Linked DNA regions of Homo sapiens: region 1 is linked to region 2. The links are contacts of gene promoters, found by promoter capture Hi-C in human tissues and cell types (Jung and others, 2019). All regions are on one chromosome and are shown on one strand. Each heading gives the region's core, a stretch centred on a gene start or on the middle of the fragment in contact. The rest is flanking DNA. Distances are from core to core; before and after follow the strand shown.

Region 1 (4,582 bases), core at 456-2,955, 620 kb after region 2:
TGTGGCTGTGCAATATGTGCCCAGGCACTGTGGCATTAGTAAAGGAGATTTATCACTGAAATACTAGGTAGAAGTATGGTTAGAATATGGAAAAGTCACATGTCTAATTTTCCTTTCTGTAGTACTAAATCAAACATTTTAATGAAATTACTGAGTAGAGGCAATACCTACCCATGGGTTTTAAAGATCTCAAGAATGAAATTTTACAACCGTTGGCCAACATATCTAGTTTCACTGGAAATTTTATAAGTATAGAAGAAAGTGGAAATGTTAATAAAGAGAAAGAAGCCAGTTGGCTGTCCCCTACTTGATGAGATTACCTCATTCTTAATTGAAAATGAGCTTGACAAACATAATGACACTGATTACATTTCCCCAAAAACTGGCTTGTAGACCAGAATTCTTTCCTTGACAGGTTCAGTAGGAATTCTACCAGTCAGGACAAATAACATGTGTCATGACGTGAGGTTTTGCTTATTGATGAAAGAGAAAAATCCAGACAGAAGATAGCTTGGTCAGTACAGGATTAAAATAAAAGGAACCTGGTATTGTTAAACACCAAAGTGGAACATTTGGATATTTGGCCATCTTTTGCCTAAGTAAAATTCTGCCTCACTCTCTGACAAGGGTGAAAGTCATACTGATCATTTTAAATCAGAATTTTCCACTTTTCTAGACCAGTTTTGTTGGGCTATCACAAAACTACATATCATAGATTGCTTAGGTTGTATTTTAATCTCTTCTATCATATGTGAGAGACATCCTAGTCTAATCAGCAACATATTCTTAGAGCTAATTACTTCTGCAGTTGGTAATCTCATCTGTTTCACTTGGCTTTAGGAGGGTGACTCATTAAAAAAGAAAATTTTATTGTTTATTTTCTTAGTATGAAATTCATACACATCTAAAGTCATATACATTTGATGTAGAAAATTTGAGTATAAACATAAACAAAAATTTAAAAAACCCAAATCTTCTATTATTGCATATATATAAAAGGAAACATATTGCATATACCATTTACTAACTCACATTTGCCAGAACAATTTTTAAAAATCTTTCTATGTAATTAACTATCCAGGCGTAAAGTTCTTTTTTAATAGCATATAGTACTTTGTTGAATGCATATTTCTTGGTTTACTTGACAAATCCCATTGTTTTGAATATTTAGATTGTTTAAATTTTTGTTTCATTGAACACCCTTGTGGTTTATTTTTATTTTTATTATTTTTTCCCACTCATCCATGGTTATTTGCATGAGATAAATTCCTAGATGTGGAATTACTGGGTGAATCTATGAGCACATTTAAAGGCTTTTGCTTTGAGTGATACAGTACTGCCAAACTGACCTTAAGGAAGTTTGTACAATATATATTCCATACTGCATTGTATGAGAATGCCTGTTTTTCTAGATGAAATATGCCATTTTCTAATTTTTTTTCTCCAATTGATGTGGCTTTTCAAATTTGAGACCTATTAATTATTTTAAAGATGGTGATTGTCCAAAAGTAATAGTAAATTTCCAATATGATCTTTACCTATGTTAAATTTGTTGGTCAAATGAGTCAGGTAAGGAGATTGTTTTTAGATATAGTAGTACCAATTTCAAAGTCTTTAGTACGATGGAAATAATTAGCTATAAATTTAAGTGACCTGGCTTTAAATTCTGGCTCTGAAGTCTCAAGCATTGATGTCTCAAGGATTGAAGTCTCAATCCTATAAGTTCCAGGTTTCTTATGTTTAAAAGGTGTATCCAATATGCCCTATCTATTGGTAGGTAAATTAGACCAGGTGGTTTAGGTATGATTCATCTCATTCTCACTTAGAGGAGTAGACCTTGATTGATATAAACCCAAAGGAATAATCCCATCTCCCTCACCTGGTAACTGATTTAGGGATGAGCAACCCAGTTTAAGCCAATCAACATATAGCATTTGCAGTAGATTGCATTATGTTCAAAATATTTCAAACTCATCCTATCTGGATTTTCTTCCAGAAAGATTTTACTTTTCATCCCATTGACAAAAGCTTAGGCAATGATTTTCTTTGCCCTACAAAATGTGAGTGGAAGTTATCTGTGCCAGTTTCAAGCAGAAGTTTTAAGAGTCACCATATAATTCTGCTATTACTCGTTTATTTCTGCTACAAGATTAATATGTCCTAGACAGTGACTTCATCTTCAATTTGGGTTTCAAAATGAAGAGGAGATGGCTCAAGTCTCAGCTGATCTGCAGCTGCCAACATGCAAGTTGAATGAGAATAAACCTTTGTTACTTTGCAAGCCACTGACAGTTTGGGGTCATTTGCTATCCCAGTACCACTTAGCCTAAACTGACTCATTCACCATTCTTTGGGTCAGTAAATGTTTTTCCAGAGTGGGTGCATAATCTAATTTTGTCTATTAGTGATGAAGCTCAAAGCATTTGTTTGGTATCTGAGCAAAGAAACTCTTTGAATGCTCTGATATATAACAGTGTCACCAGACACCTCACCAAATGAAGTAGCATTTTGTTACTGATAGAAATCAGCCAGAGGAAAGAGCAAACAGATGAGAATAGCACCAAGAGAAATGCAGGGAAACAGAGTACCCTAATCTTAAATCAGTGCCTGAAGCTGACATACCTTTGAACTCATCAGTTAAGTGAACCAGAAAAAATAAATTCCCTTTATAGTTTAAGCCACTTTGAGTTGAACTTTCTTTTATTTGCAGCCAAAAGTATTGTGGCTGATTCAAATGTCCTCTGTAACGTGATTCAGCAGAACACAATTTAGGAAGCATGAAAACAGGACAATACCATGAGATGATAATTTCTAGCAAATGTGTGTGTTATTAATGAGCAATTGAAAGAACACAAAGGTGAAACTTAGAAGAGTTTCTGAAGACAAAGAATTCTCAGATTAGGGTGCAATGTGCTTATTTTAGCTTGAAGTAGAAGTGGAAAACTGCGTGGAGAAGAGGGCAAAGAGGTCATTGCTGATTACACACGTTGCTCCAAGTTCTCAATTCTGTACTCTTCTTTGGTTAGTGCTTCTCACTGCCTTAACTGACCTTACAGGACTTCAACAACTGCCTGCTTAACTACATGTCCATTACTAGCCCCCTGTGTTCTCTTAAAGTCCAGACCTGTATCACAGAGGCGTCTTCCTACAGTCATCATTTGACTGGTAGGGGGCTTAATTAATTAGCATTTGTAAGATGTCTCCAGCCCGTTAGTGGATTAGAGGTAATTTGGAAAGCAGCGCCAAGAGCTTTCTATTACCTTCCTCTCTGCTGGTCTCTTTTCCTGCTTCTGGAGTAACTGGCATTGATGTTGACTCAAATGAACTTAAACTTGTTATCCTGTCTCATTTGATTTTTCATTAAATAGATTCCAAAGTATCCCAGAAACACTTTACAATGATCAGTCATTTCTCCTACAGACTAAACAAATTCAATGTTAATGAATAATGCAGTTTTATAATTGCACAAAGGGTGAAGTGTTTGAAACCACAGATAAAATATCTTGGATTCTTAGAGTTTTCTTTTATAAAAACCCTTCTCCTGTAGCCAACTTGGACATCATAGCTCTCCCATGACCGCCACCTAGTAATCCCTTCCTCACACTTAATGAACGCTTCCTTGACAGTCATAGAATTTAAATGTTTTGTTCTTTTTTTCATACCTTGATTGAATATTTTTTGTTCTGTTCTTATTTAGCCACACAGAGAATGATGCAATTAGGAAATACATTTGGGGGCTAATAAGGAAAGCTTGAACCAATACGGTTTAACAAGATGAAGGTTTGTTTTTTCTCATATACAGGTAGTCTGTAGGTTGACTTTCTATAGTTGTAGAAGTGGTTCTAGGATACCACCTATGTCCTAGACTGCTATCTTTTTATTCTGTCGTCATTAACATGTGACTTCCAACTTCAAGGAGCAAGACAGACAAAGTAGCTCCAGATATCAAGTCTTTATTCCGGGCAGGAAGAGGGAGGAAATATGGAAAAACAAAAAAGAGCCTCTTACCCTTCCTGAAAGCCTTATCCAGAACTTAGTTACCTGGCCACTGCTATCTTAAAATGAGGCTGAAAAAAGTAATTTTGTATCAGTGCACACCGATATCCCTGACAAAACTAGGTTTCTATTCTGAAGGAGGAAGGGAAAATGGGCATGAAATTGGTAATTATCAGCTTTTGCCACACAGCACTTTTTGACAGTATGTCTTAATAATCCTTAAGTCAATAATAAGTTACAAAAATAAGTGAAATACACACCTACCCCAGTGGTCATGGGCCTTTTGGGGTGCTAGATGACTTAATAGAGTACAGAGATCATTTTATCTGGAAGAATATTAATAAATCGTTATTTGCCACATGGTACCCAGCAATGACAAAAAGTAGATGCAAAGGGAGAAAACTTTTTAAAATCTTTATTAGCGTAGCGGAAATACTAACTTTCCTAGGCTTCTTCCTGCAGGTTCACCTGCAATTACTCTGAAGCAAAAGGGACTGGTGTTCCTTGTCCAAGAGCCCTGTCTAATCTATTATTCTTCTAGTTGGATTTTTGTTAGCTACTATATGTTCTGTACCATATTAAAGGT
Region 2 (4,476 bases), core at 1-2,500:
AAAAAAAAAAAAAAAAAAAAAAAAAAAAAAAAATTCTCAGGGCCAGTTCAAAGGGAAAATGGCCAAAGCTTAGACCAAGAAATAGGGTTGGGGAGTTGTGGCCAATCTCAATTCCTACTGCTTCAGAACTGGAGTAGGGAGACAGCTTACCAGAAGGAACCATTTTTCTTCTGGTCATTTCCTTACATCACCAACAAGCTGCCAAAAAGACTTGAGAACGGTAAGCAAAACCAAGTCCCGAAACCCTGAATGCAACCTCTCACTTAGGTGCTAGGGTAGGATGTTGGGTCAGGTGTGTTAAGGTAAAAAGGGTGACATATGTAGTTAAGCACATTTACCAGATTCTCCCGTAGCTTACTTTACTATTCAGAGGTCCAACCCTACCTCGTACTCAACTATTTTTATTCTCTATCCCAGGAAGAAACAGTGTAGGGGCAACAGTCTCTGAGAAAATTAATTAACATCGCTCATTAAATAAGAGCGCCGATTCCAACGCCCTGACTGGTTTCCAGCCCGGGTTCCACCACTTCCCAAATATTTAAGTTTGGAAGTTACTCAACTTTTCTAAACCTCACTTTCCTTAACTACTAAATGGGTAATAATAAAAAGAACCACCCATAATTCTGCAGTCGGCCTCGTAAGCGACCAATAAAAGCTGCCGATGGAACTTGTCTTCCGAAGGCTGATGCAATGGCCGTTTGGAGAAACAAGTTCAGCGGCCTCCTTTTACTGACAGGTACAACAGTGCCCGGATAACGGAGAAAGGACTGGCCTTAGGTCACACGGAGTGAGGGGAGAGAACCCAAATTTACCCACAGGTACCACAGGCTGGGAGAAGAGGCCGGGAGAGTGGTACATCCCTCCCTTGGGGGCTTAAGAGACTTCTCACCTTCCAGGCCATGCATGACCTCGGATCTCCTTACCTTCCTCGGCCTAAGAAAGAGGCACGGCTGATGGCCTCAGTTTCCCCGTCTGTAAAATGGGGCCGTGAGTGCACGGTCGTAGAGGCCGAGAAGCTTGGTCCCCTGGCCTACGCTCAGATAGCTCTCGCCTTCCAGCCCACAACCACCCCGGCTGGCTCGCTAGCCCCTCAGAGTCCTCACGCTCCCGACTCCCCGCCTGCAATGCTTACTTGCTCTCCCACGCGGCACTCCAGGCCAGTAGGCGCTGCACCCGCAGCCGGCCCGCCCACAGCGACCGTACGGCCATGTTTCCAATTTGGGCTGAGAGGCAGCGCACGCGCACTTGCTGCGAGTGAAGAGATGCTCCCGCTTAAAAACCAGCCTTTGCGGGCGTTTCCCTCTCAGGACTTCCGGACAGGAACGCTATGCTTCCGGTTGCCCGATGGGCCGCGCCGTTCCCCATCCGGTCGTCCGGAGCTAAGGCAACACTTCCGGCTCTCAGTGTGTTCCGCGGGTAGGCGAGGTCCTAGTAGTAACTACAGTCTCCGTGCTGGGCGCAGGGTCGGCAGCAAAGAAAGCAGATCATAGCTGTGCCCGCATGGAGCTTACTTGATATTATGAGCGATAAACAGATACAAGCGGGATGTAAAGTCAGAATATGAGCGGTGTTTGAAGGTGAGGGGCAGGTGTCGCGGAAGCCTAGAATAGAAATCTAGCCTTGTGGAAAGTTTTCCCAGAGGAAGGGGGTATTTGAGCTGAGCTGAAGAAAGGGTTCAGGCAGAGGGAAACATCTGCAGAAGCCTAATAAAGAGAGAAGAGTATTGCATGTAAGGGACTGAAATATACTGAGGCGGGAGGGCAACAGGACTGGTGGTTAGGAAGGGCTAGATCACGTGAGCGGTTTAAAACATCGCAGCCTGAACCATTGCCCATCACTCCTCCCAGTCTTTTTCTCTAATGCCCTTCTTATCGACTGAATTGTTTTTTTAAATAGTGTGTATTTTCTCATTTCCTCTCACTAAAATATAAGCTCTTTTAAGGCAGAGATATTGTCTATTCATTCCCATTGAGCAGTGCCCTAATGTAGGTGTTCAAAATTATTTTTTTTGAGATGGAGTCTCACTCTGTCACCCAGGCTGGAGTGCAGTGGCACGATCTCGGCTCACTGCAACCTCTGCCTCCCAGGTTCAAGTGATTCTCCTGCCTCAGCCTCCTCAGTAGCTGGGATTACAGGCGCCCACTACACCCGGCTAATTTTTGTATTTTTAGTAGAGACAGGGTTTCACCATGTTGGTTAGGCTGGGCTTGAACTCCTGACCTCAGGTGATCTGCCTTCCTCAGCCTTCCAAAGTGCTGGGATTACAGGCATGAGCCACCGCCCCCGGCTTCAAAAAACTTTTTTGCTGAATGCAATTTAGTCTGATTCTGATTGCAATGGAATGTGAAAATAAATAAAACCTAAAAGCTGTTGGAACCTCCCAAATACTTGAAGCTTTGAGAGAGATGTGGCTGTGGTCTGAGTCCATGTAGCATGTTTTGTAGTTCTGCTTCTTAGAATTATAGCTTAATTCTCTTCCTCATTGTTCTTGTTCTGTAATGACTAGGAAAGAGCAGAGACCAGATTTCTTCCCTCTCAATTACTGATGTTTGTAATAGACAGCCTCCTTTATTGTCCTGCACCTAACTCAGACTAGATGGTGCCCTGAACTGAACTGACCCCATGACAGTTACATCTGCAGGATGTGATGTTAAATGTACCTTTCTTGAAGGAAAAAGACCACCTTAACTACTCAGATCATTGTAACTGTGCATTAAGCCTTGCATAGAAAGATGTTGAAATTCTGTTAAACCTCACTGAACCCAACCTTTCACACTTTGGAACACTGACTTCCATCTTTTTTAAGACAGACATATTTTTCCATTCTGTGCTTCCTGGGCAGGCCATCCTCAACCTTTGTGCTTGAATAAACTCTCTTTAAACTAGATTCTGACCTTTTAAATTATTTTAGATTGACAGGGAACATGTGACAAAGGCTTTCATGTTTAAAGAGTCACTTTGACTGCTGTGTGAAGCAGATTGCAAGGTGTAAGAAAAGAGGTAGGGAAGGCAATATGTTGCAGTAGCCCAGGCAAGATGGGGCTATATTCTGTCCTGGAAGAACAGAGAGAGACCTTCCTAACCACTGTAAAGTAACTGTGTCCAGCACCCTTTTAGTTTCTTAGTATTTTATTTCTTTTGCTTCCTTGTTAAGGTTTTTTCCTCCAACTAGAATGTGAGCTTCATGAGGTGTCTGTCTTGTTCACCACTGATTTCTGACATCTAGTATAGTAGGTACTCAAGTATTTGTTGAATGACTTAATTAAGTTGGATAGTGTCAGTGAAGATAGGAAGATATGGATGAATTTTAGAGATTTAGGATGGAAAGCTGACAGACTGAGAGGATGGATTGGTGACTGGGGTCCAGGGCACTTGGAGTTGCCAGCTTAGTTACTGGATAGTCCCTTAATTTTTTTTTTTAAGGGAATGGGAAGTGTTCCTTGAGCACTCTGAATCTTGTCATAACATGGGTTATTTGTACTGTAGTTATTTGGGTCACATTTTCTTTCCTGCTTGTCTCTGAGTTCCATGAGGACAGAGCTGGAGTATTTTCATCTTTTTATCTAATCCGAGGTCCAACTCAAATGTGTCATGACCAATAACTTATATTTTCTTTTTGGCCTTATGAAAAGGGTGATATGGTTTAGGGAGGTATTATGATTCTCTTTTACATATGAGAAAATTGAGGCTCAGAAAGGTTGGTAAACCTATGCAAGATCCCGCAATAAGGAAACAGTGACAGTAGAATTCTGACAGACTGAACACTTGGCAGTGTTGGGCTTAGACCTGTGGCTTACACTTTGAAAAAACACAACCAAATAAGGCATTTTTTTTTTTTTGAGATGGAGTCTTGCTATTGCCCAGGCTGGAGTGCAGTGGTGCGATCTCGGCTCACTGCAACCTCCACCTCCCGGGTTCAAGTGATTCTCCTCCCTCAGCCTCCCAAGTAGCTGGGACTACCGGCATGTGCCACCGTGCCCAGCTAACTTTTGTATTTTTGATAGAGATGGGGTTTTGCCATGTTGGCCAGGCTGGTCTTGAACTCCTGACCTCAAGTGATCCACCCGCTTCGGCCTCCCAAAGTGCTGGGATTACAGGCATGAGCCACCATACCTGGCCTAAACAAGGCATTTTAACAACCAAGAACAAGTGGCATCTGTGCCTTAGCCATTTTGCTTACATTTCTCCTAGCTGCCTAACGTTCACCAGGTTGCTGCTTGCATCCATGCATTCATTCGTCTATTTATTAAGTGCTAGTGTGCTTCTGAATGTTGCAGTACAAGGGGAGGGAGATATATGGATGACATAGAGCTTTAAAATTAAGAATAAGGCTCTAGGGTCAGACTTCTTATATTCACATGCTGGCTCCACCAGCATGTAAATATAAGAACTATGGGAGCTTGGACAAGTTACCTGACCTCTGTGAGCTTCCATTTCCTGAACTGTGAAAACTAGGGCAATATAACTTATCTCAGG

What was found. Contacts are between HindIII fragments. The study calls those that stand out against the background at their distance.
Region 1: a fragment that was not itself captured here is called in contact with the fragment with the promoter of GRPEL2 in region 2 in 1 of the 25 tissues and cell types used here (dorsolateral prefrontal cortex).

Annotation. Positions count from the first base shown.
Region 1 is chr5:148,718,410-148,722,991 of GRCh38, reverse strand. No RefSeq gene overlaps it. Among named protein-coding and RNA genes, the nearest start is that of HTR4, 66 kb to the right of the region's middle. RefSeq lists an enhancer at 2,898-3,469. The HindIII fragment of the contact is 5,202 bases long and covers 1-4,306 here.
Region 2 is chr5:149,342,273-149,346,748 of GRCh38, reverse strand. It overlaps GRPEL2 (GrpE like 2, mitochondrial), which reads right to left and starts at 1,250. Exons shown (of 4, transcript NM_152407.4): 1 at 1,133-1,250. The coding sequence starts at 1,209. AFAP1L1 (actin filament associated protein 1 like 1) reads right to left here. Exons shown (of 19, transcript NM_152406.4): 19 at 3,112-4,476. RefSeq lists enhancers at 318-941, 942-1,567. The HindIII fragment of the contact is 4,441 bases long and covers 543-4,476 here.